Linked DNA regions of Homo sapiens: regions 2 and 3 are each linked to region 1. Evidence: promoter capture Hi-C in human tissues and cell types (Jung and others, 2019). All regions are on one chromosome and are shown on one strand. The core of a region is centred on a gene start or on the middle of the fragment in contact, and the rest is flanking DNA. Distances in the headings are between cores, read along the strand shown.

The links. The method cuts DNA at HindIII sites, captures the fragments that hold promoters and counts their contacts. A contact is called where the count stands out against the background at its distance.
Region 2: a fragment that was not itself captured here is called in contact with the fragment with the promoter of NDUFB6 in region 1 in 1 of the 25 tissues and cell types used here (lymphoblastoid cells).
Region 3: a fragment that was not itself captured here is called in contact with the fragment with the promoter of NDUFB6 in region 1 in 1 of the 25 tissues and cell types used here (H1 embryonic stem cells).

Annotation. Positions count from the first base shown.
Region 1 is chr9:32,571,636-32,574,545 of GRCh38, forward strand. NDUFB6 (NADH:ubiquinone oxidoreductase subunit B6) reads right to left here and starts at 1,524. Exons shown (of 4, transcript NM_002493.5): 1 at 1,246-1,524. The coding sequence starts at 1,425. RefSeq lists enhancers at 1,072-1,611, 1,882-1,931. The HindIII fragment of the contact is 12,015 bases long and covers 1-2,910 here.
Region 2 is chr9:32,906,575-32,909,645 of GRCh38, forward strand. No RefSeq gene overlaps it. Among named protein-coding and RNA genes, the nearest start is that of APTX, 94 kb to the right of the region's middle. RefSeq lists an enhancer at 1-1,117 and a silencer at 2,335-2,535. The HindIII fragment of the contact is 8,299 bases long and covers 1-3,071 here.
Region 3 is chr9:32,156,524-32,159,569 of GRCh38, forward strand. No RefSeq gene overlaps it. Among named protein-coding and RNA genes, the nearest start is that of ACO1, 230 kb to the right of the region's middle. The HindIII fragment of the contact is 4,188 bases long and covers 1-3,046 here.

The sequences.
Region 1 (2,910 bases), core at 274-2,773:
AAAAAACACCTATCCATTCAAGGAAGGGACAATCCAGAATCTAAGAATTATAACAGATATGATTATAAAAGAATAAATTAAAGTAAGGTAAGGTGAACTTCGACACATTATTATTTATTTACTTCCTTATATCACTTGCTGATGGATGGGATGTCAACTTTAAATCAGTGACTGCCAATATTCCGATAATGTCAGGGATACAAAGGGTGGGAGAAGAGTTGAATTTTACCACCATAAATAAGTATCCAATATCACTTTCTCAGAAAAATTTTCAACAATTCTATTGCACTAGACTTTGTAGCACAGTAAGAATCAGATACATGTTGATTACAATATGAACTCATATTCAATTCCTAGCTCCCTGACCACCAGCAAATCACTGAAGCTTTGTAGGCCTCAGTTTCTTCACATTTAAAATGAGGATTAGGAATATCTACCTTACAGGAATAAAGAAATGAAGTAACACATGTAAAACCCCCAGTAGAGTGCCAAGCACACAGCAAGCACCCGTGTGTTACGTAGTATTGTTACTACTATTATCCTGTCATCAGTAAGTGTTGCAGGTAACTGAAAGCAATTCTGAGATGTTTATCATCCATAACAGTCCTCAAGAAAATACCCAGAGGCCTTGAAAATAAAGTTCTTGAATGAGTGATTTTCTTCAAAGCCCAAAATGCGATTTTTTTAATGAAACACTGTGTTAAAAGTACAGAACGGTAGTTTAGAAAGGTAGCTCTTGAATGTGACTCACAAGGCATACCAACAGGACCCTGTCTTTTACGGGGATCACATGGGGCTGTACTATCAGCTAGGGGCTGGCTGTGCCCTCTGGTGGTTGGATACTGTGTTACTTGGTCTCTAGAACCTCACACTTAAAAGTCAGACAAGTGTCCTCAAATACTTAAATCACAGAATTTTAATTCTAGCGAGTCCTTGGTTATTATTCTGAGGGAAGATTTCTACAGTCAAAAGAGAACCAAACGTGCAGCGTCCTGGAAAACCTAAGTATTAAAATTCGCCCCCGTCCACTGTACTTGACAGTAAAAGGCATGATTCTCTCAAAGCCATACATATTCCTGGACTCCTGCCTCCCGAGACTCCAGGAGGACTCTCGGGACTGGCCAGTGTCCCAGAGCACTGAGCGTTATCAGTCCTTGGTGTGGCTGCAGGGAGCGGACGTTCAGTGTTCAGGCTGCCGGCAGCAGTGGGATGTGTTGGGGGGGACCGGAGAGGTCTGTCACTCACCATTTTCCTCCAAGGGGATTTATTCTCCAAAAATTTATTCCAGAATTTCTCCATAGGCCCCATCTTCTGTGGGGGCAGCACCGGCTCCCGAGGGCTCAGCTCCTGGTCCTTCAGCCATCGCCTTCTCAGCTCTCGCAGCTGCTGCAGCCGCAGTTTCTCATCCGGAGTGTACCCCGTCATGTCGCCGCTGGTACCAACGCAAAAGGACACGGCGCACCCTCGAACTACGGACTAGTTACTTAAGCGCGCTCCCGCTCTGCAAAGCGACCTTGCGGGAACGCCGAGCGCCGCGCGCGGTTATTACGTCACATCCTGGTTCCGCCTCTGCAAGGGCCCCAGATTCCTCGCGAGGAAAGCAGTGTGTGGGCATGCACAAAGGTCTCCACCTCCAGTTCTCTCTACGCCCACCTCCGCTATACCCGACCAAATTAGGACCGGGTGGGGACAAGGAGTACTCGTAGTTGTGGGGCCTGAGGAAAGTGACAGATTAGACGAAAGTATGCTAAATTAGAGGACTGGAGGTTTTGCTAAGGAAGAACTTGTATGCTGGGAGGAGGAAGGATAAGCATAAATGTTTCAGTGAATATGCTGGCCAGATTCAAAATTATTTGCTTGCCTCTCCCACCTTGGAATGACCTAGAGAGTGTATGAAAATAGTTACATCCCAGTTCAAATCCCAGCTATGCCAGTAACTGCTGAAGTGCCCTGGGCAGCTGTCTCATCTGTCCCTCCATCTGTACAGGAATAGTGAAAAGAGTAGCTTAATATCTAGCAAAATTGCATAGATGAATTCATGCTTTCACCCAAAAATACGTGTGGTGAAAATATGAAAGAGCATGCACGACTATTCAGCACGATTCATAATACCAAAATATTGGAAATTACCCCCAAATTCCTAAATAAAGGACTGCTTGAATAAATTGTAGTACAACAGTCAAAAGACAGCATTACAACGAATTAGTTTAAAAATCTTAATTGACTCTTATTCGTGATTCTAGAATCAAAAAACACCTCATTCTATAAAGTAGAATGAGTGTTCTGATCAGCTGAGCAGAGGCGGTTGGTTTTATTGGCAAATAGGGGCTGAAGAAAGCAGAAACCGAACAAAAAGTGGACTCATCGTTTCAAAGTTACTTTTAGGGTTAAAGCAGAAGAAACTTCCTTGTTTCACTGACTCAGACTTAAGGGAATTTCCTATTTTTTGGGAAACTGGCCCATTTCAAAGTTCAGTTTGATTGTGTGGTACTTAGCACAAACGACTCCATTCTGGTTTGGTCTGGTCTGCTGGGGCCTAGTGCGTGAAGCTAGTCCAAAACAGTGGCTTCCCAAAAACTTTCACACAACAAAGCAATGAAATGCTAATACAATCGTCAAAAGTAATAAGGAAGAACTCTATATACATCTGTGGTGTGATCTCCAGAATACATTACAAAGTGGAAAAAAAATGGATAGGAATTTGTACAGTATGCTTTTACCCAAAAAGAGAAAGATGGTGGTAATTTCAATATATATACATATTTTCTTAAATTTTCAAAATAATGGGAATGAAAACAATTGAGGTTTTTAAAGATGCTACCTATGGTGGAGGAAATAAATAGGATAGAGGAGACAGGGATAGAATCTAGACATCTCTGGAAACATCTTACTTCATAAATTTGACTTTAG
Region 2 (3,071 bases), core at 319-2,818, 330 kb after region 1:
TATGCTGACTTCATGAGTAAAGCTGCAGACCTTCGCAGTGAGTGTTACAACTCTTAAAGGTGGTGCGGACCCAAAGAATGACCAGCAGCGAGACTTATTGCTAAGAGCGAAAGAACAAAACTTCTACACCCTGGAAGGGGACCCGAGGAGGTTGCCACTGGTGGCTGGGGTGACCTGCTTTTTATTCCTTTATTTGGTCCCGCTCACATCCTGCTGATTGGTCCATTTTACAGAGAGCTGATTGGTCCATTTTACAGAGAGCCGAATGGTCCATTTTTACAAGTGCTGATTGGTGTGTTTACAAACCTTTAGCTAGACACAGAGCGCTGATTGGTGCGTTTTTACAGAGTGCTGATTGGTGCATTTACAAACCTTTAACTAGACACAGAGCGCTGATTGGTGCATTTACAATCCTTTAGCTAGACAGAAAAGTTCTCCAGGTCCCCACCTGATTAGCTAGACACAGAGCACTGATTGGTGCGTTTTTACAGAGTGCTGATTGGTGCGTTTACAAACCTTTAACTAGACACAGAGCACTGATTGGTGCATTTACAATCCTTTAGCTAGACAGAAAAGTTCTCCAGGTCCCCACCGGATTAGCTAGACACAGAGCACTGATTGGTGAGTCTACGAACCTTTAGCTAGACACAGAGCGCTGACTGGTGCATTTACAAAATCCTTTAGCTAGACAGAAAAGTTCTCCAAGTCCCCACCCGACCCAGAAGTCCAGTCAGCTTCACCTCTCACTTTGAATCGAGGGCTGCAATAAAACATAATCTCAATCAGTTCAGCTAGCATCCCAAAGTGTGATCATTGCCATGCTGAAAGAAAACAGTGATTCTAAGGAAGCCAAAGAAACTTCTACTGCCAATAAAGACTGGTTTCATCATTTCAGATGCCAGAATGAATGATTTACAGTAAGCTATCTGATTAAGTAGCTGGTGAAAATAAGTTTTCTGCCGTGAAATTTGAAACAAGATTTCAAGAATTAGTTAAGGAAAGTAGGTTATGATGCTCTCAAACAAGAGAGTGGCTATGACAAAAGCACAAAGATGTCCCAGAGAAAGGGATGCTGGCAAAAATGTCAGGTTAAAGAAACTCTCAAAGATATTTCACAACCTTGAAAGTGCAGAGGATAAAATGTTAAAAGTGAATCCAAACTTGAAAGGATGGTGACAATTTGCCAAGGAATAAAAAAGGATGAAATACCGGGAAGGGCTACAACGTGGAGAAACCTTGAAACATTATGCAAAGCCAGTCATAAAAGACCACTTACTATCTGATTCCATTTATATGAAATGTCCAGAATAGGCAAATCTATATAGATACAGAAAGTAGATTAATGGTTGTCTAGGGCTGAGGAGGGTATGATGAGAGGGTAGGAGGGTGATAGATAAAGGGTCTGAGATTTAAACTGTCTGTTTAACATTATCAGAGAGCTGTCAAAAATATCCAGAATTTGAAAGGCTAAGATTCCAAAGAAAAAAGAAGCTGACTAAGTGAGTCCAATATTCTTTATACCTCTTTCGCCCTCAAGGCATTAATGACTCCTAGGGTGGCCGGGGTTGTAGGGGGTCAGGGAGTAGGGTTGCTGAGAAGGCAGGCAGAGAATGAATGCTAAGAGGCAAAGAAGCTGGCAATCTTGTGGAGCTGGGTTGGAGCCTGCCAAGACAGCCAGGACCTAAATAGCCAAGATTCCTGAAGAGAGGAGGCCTGGGGAAGACAGCCTGATACTCAGTAACTTTCCCTTCAACACTGAAAAAATAGGAATAATTATCTAGCAAGACCAATAAAAAAAGAGAAATCAAGCACAAATTACATAAGTAAGGGAACAAAAATGGCCTCACTACAAAAATGGCCTACACCCCACAAACATCAAAGAGTTACTAATGGGATATTAGAACAACCCTAGGCCAATAAATTTGGAAAATTAGATGAAATGGACAAACTCCTGGAAAAATAAAACTTATTAAAACTGCCTCAGAAAGATCAGAAAATCTGAATGGTGCTTTAGCTATTAAAGAAACTGAATCTATCATTTTAAGTCTTTCCACAAAGGAATCTCCAGATCCAGTTGGTTGTACTGATGAATTCTTCCACTGAGGAAGAAGAAAGACTAATACTAAGAAACTTCTCTCAGAGAAAACAATCTATAAATAAGGGAACTGATCAAGTTTACTAGTAAACAAGATCAATATACAACAAAACACCAAAAATAAACTACTAAAAATGAAATTTGAGGCCGGGCATGGTGGCTTACGCCTATAATCCTAGCACTTTGAGAGGCCAAGGCAGGTGGATTGCTTCAGCTCAGGAGTTCAAGACTAGCATGGGCAACGTGGCAAGACCCATCTCTACAAAAAATACAAAAATTAGCCAGGCATGGTGGCGCATGCCTGTAGTTCCAGCTACTTGGGAGGCTGAGGCAGGAGGATGGCTTGAGCCCAAGAGGTGAGGTTACAGTGAGCCAAGATCGTGCCACTGCACTCCAGCCTGGACAACAGAGTGAAAATGATATGATAGTGGCTCTCATCTGCTCCCCGCACCCGACCACTGGGGCAGATTTTAATTTTTTAAAAATAATCATCTGATGCTGAATTTAAAACTTTGGAGGGAATCAAAAGAGAAGGTCTTGCACTCCTGTTATCCAAGAGACATAAATACATGTGTGTTTTCCTTTTAGGCCGAAAACAAGAACAACATTCCTGGCATTCAACTACAAGGAAGCCCAATACCCCGGGTGCCATAAGACTTCCAGTATGCCTGCCTGAGCTTTGAAAGAGAGGAGAGGAAGCCAAGTCATCCAGCAGATCGGACCCACAAGCTCATCCTCTAGTTTTTTTCAAGGGGCACCATTCCTGTAAGGAAAGCTTTCTTGGGCTTGGCTGTAGAATCTTCCAGAAATGTAAACAAAAGAGTAAGAGCCAAAGACCAAGAACCCTGGCTGGTGAGAGTCAGAGGGCCAGAATTTAGTGTAAAGCCCGCTCTAAAGACTGTTAACACTTCCTTTCCACCACTGCATCGATGATTGTTTGAAAAAGTGATTGTTTGTGATAGACTGGATTAAGAAA
Region 3 (3,046 bases), core at 86-2,585, 420 kb before region 1:
TTTGGGGACTTATCCAAAAATTATTTGCCAAGGTCAGTATCAAAAAGGGTGTTCCCTAAGTTGTTTTGTAGGATTGTTATAGTCTGAGGTCTTACATTTAATTCTTTAATCCCTTTTGAGTTTATTTCTGTATGTAGTGAAAGGTAGTAGCCATCCAGCTTCAATCTTTGGCTTATGGCTAGCCAGTTTTCCCAGCACCATTTATTGAATAAGGAATTCCTTCCGCATTGCTTGTTTTTGTCAGCCTTGTCGAAGATCAGATGGTTGTAGGTGTGTGGCTTTATATTGGAGTTTTCTATCCTAGTCTATTAATCTATGTGTCTCTTTTTGTACCAGTTACAAGCTGTTTTGGCTAATGTGAATTTATAGTATAGATTGAAGTCAGGTAGTATGATGGCTCTGGCTTTGTTCTTTTTGCTTAGAATTGCTTTGGCTATTCAGGCTCTTTTTTGGTTCCATATAAATTTTAGAAAAGTTTCTTCTAATTCTGTGAAGAGTGATGTAGATAGTTTGATAGGAATAGTATTGAATCTGTAAATCGCTTTGGGCAGTATGGCCATTTTTATGATATTGATTCTTCCAATCCATGAGCATGGAATGTTTTTCAAATTATTTGTGTCATCTCTGATTTCTTTCAGCAATGTTTTGTAGTTTTCCTCTTAGAGATCTTTCACCTCCCTGATTAGCTGTATTCCTAGGTATTTCATTTTCTTTGTGGCTATTATAAATGGGATTGTGTTCTTGATTTCCCTCTCAGCCTGGACATTGTTGGTGTATAGAAATGCTACTGATTTTTGTACATTGACCCTCAACAACCAAGGCATGAAAGGAACATACCTCAACTTAATAAGAGCCATCTATAACAAACCCACAGCCAACATTATACTGAATGGGCAGAAATTCAAACCATTCTCCTTGAGAAATGGAAGAAGACAAGGATGTCCACCCTCACCACTCCTATTCAGCATAGTACTGGAAGTCCTATCCAGTAGGACTATCATGCAAGCAGGCAAGAAAAATGAATAAAAGGTATCCAAATAAGAAAATATGTCAAACTATCTCTCTTTGCTGATGATATAATTGGATACCTAGAAAATCTTAAAGACTCTGCCAAAAGGCTCCTGGAACTGATAAACAACTCTGGTAATGTTGCAGGATACTGTACTTCCTATTCTTGTCTCAATGAAGCAATTTAGTACCATTTTCTTTCCAAAATCTTATTTTGGTGAAAATTTTATCTGTACTAGAGATAGCAGCAAACAGACAAAAAAAAATTAGTAAGATAGATCCTAATTTTGATTACTTTCACTTATCTAAGAATTGCAAAGCTGACTCAGACATGAGGGTGTTAAGATAATAAACTAACCTATGATAAACACAGATAATTATAGAACAATTTTTGAAAAGTCTAAGATTTAGAGTCAGTGTTAAATACATGTTTGGAATAATTAAGAGCATGGCTTTTCAATAAATTAAAAAGTAACAGCGTATTTTAGGAAGCTGGCAAAAGTCAAATGAGCAAAATTGATTATTGTAGCAAAGAATTGGATAAAGTTGTTGGAAGTATGAGGCTGGATTAGCACTTACAAAGATTTTTCAAATTATTTCTTATACTTTCTTGTTTCTGTTTTTTTCACAGTTAACTGCCAATATTCTCACATACTTGTATAACTGTGATAGTCATTGAAAACTCTTCACAAAATATTTTTATTCTCATTCCAGGTAAATAGTGAACTGAAGTTTCACCCCCGCTTTGAATTAAATGACATGCTTCAAAATAAGCTGATGTGGTATTTATCACTTTCAGGTGAAAGTTCTATGAATCAGGGCACAATTTGCCACCCTCTCTTTCTCCCCACCACAGGGACTGACCATTTTTTTCAATAGTAAGCAGCTGCTATGTCACCTCATGAACTCACGAGGATGACAAAGAAAATGGCCAACAGCTGATGGAGCAAAATCTGGAAATAGTACTTTCTTTAAAAATATCAAGGCTCAGGGTTCTTACTGCAGTATAACCAGTCCATCCTCACAGATATAATAAGTATAGAAAAATATGTATTTATCATATTGGCATTTGACATTACAGGAGTAATAGATAATAACTATTTAAGAATGAAAATTCGAGATTAGGTATTTCTAGGTGTTAGTTTACTGGTTGTATTTTATTTGTAATTTTCCATGTTTCAAATTGTCTTCAATGTCTGAGTGTTTAATAATCATAAAATCAACAACCTTTATGTTAAAAGAGAATAGGATTATAATAAAAATAAATAAGCTTCATAATGTTAAGTATCAATAATTTCTATATTTTGAAATATGATTAATGCACTGTAGGTGTTCTTTTAATGCATGTGTTAGTACACAAGTAACATAAGCAATTATTTCAGTTTTATCTTTTATTGCAAATCACATGTGCATACTATAATTACCTATTTTCATGTAGTATTAAGAAGCATTATTAATTAACACAAAATTTGTTTTCTGCTAATGGTTTTTAACAGATAGCAAATGCATTAGTTTTCCTCTGTAAACAATTTGTACTGAATCACACATATTTTGATATGTGGAACTTTATGTTCATCTTCCAGAAGACCATGCAAACAGTTCTAAATTCTACTTTCAACAAATGGTTATTTTTAAAAGTAACATTCTGATGACATTTTAATTTTCTTGTTTTCTTAAACTTTGGACTTCTCGTCAAGTTTTATTGCATTGTTATAAGACGTAGCACATACCTTTTCAAATTTATCATAATTTTATTATGGCTCAGTGTGTCATCAGCTTATTAAAAATTCCCTAAGATTAAGAAGGTGGATTTAATTTGTATTGCATATAAAATCTGACAAATATATACTAACACACATATTCAAATGTATCTGTCAGATTTTCTAAATGCTAATTTTTATTCATTTGGTTTGTCAACAACTGAGGGTATAGAAATCTTGTATTACTCTTGTGATTTTGTTGCTTCTTAAAATATATTTCTAACAAGATTTTGCATAACAGATGTCCAGGTTACTTTAGTTGATGTGTAAATGTGCAC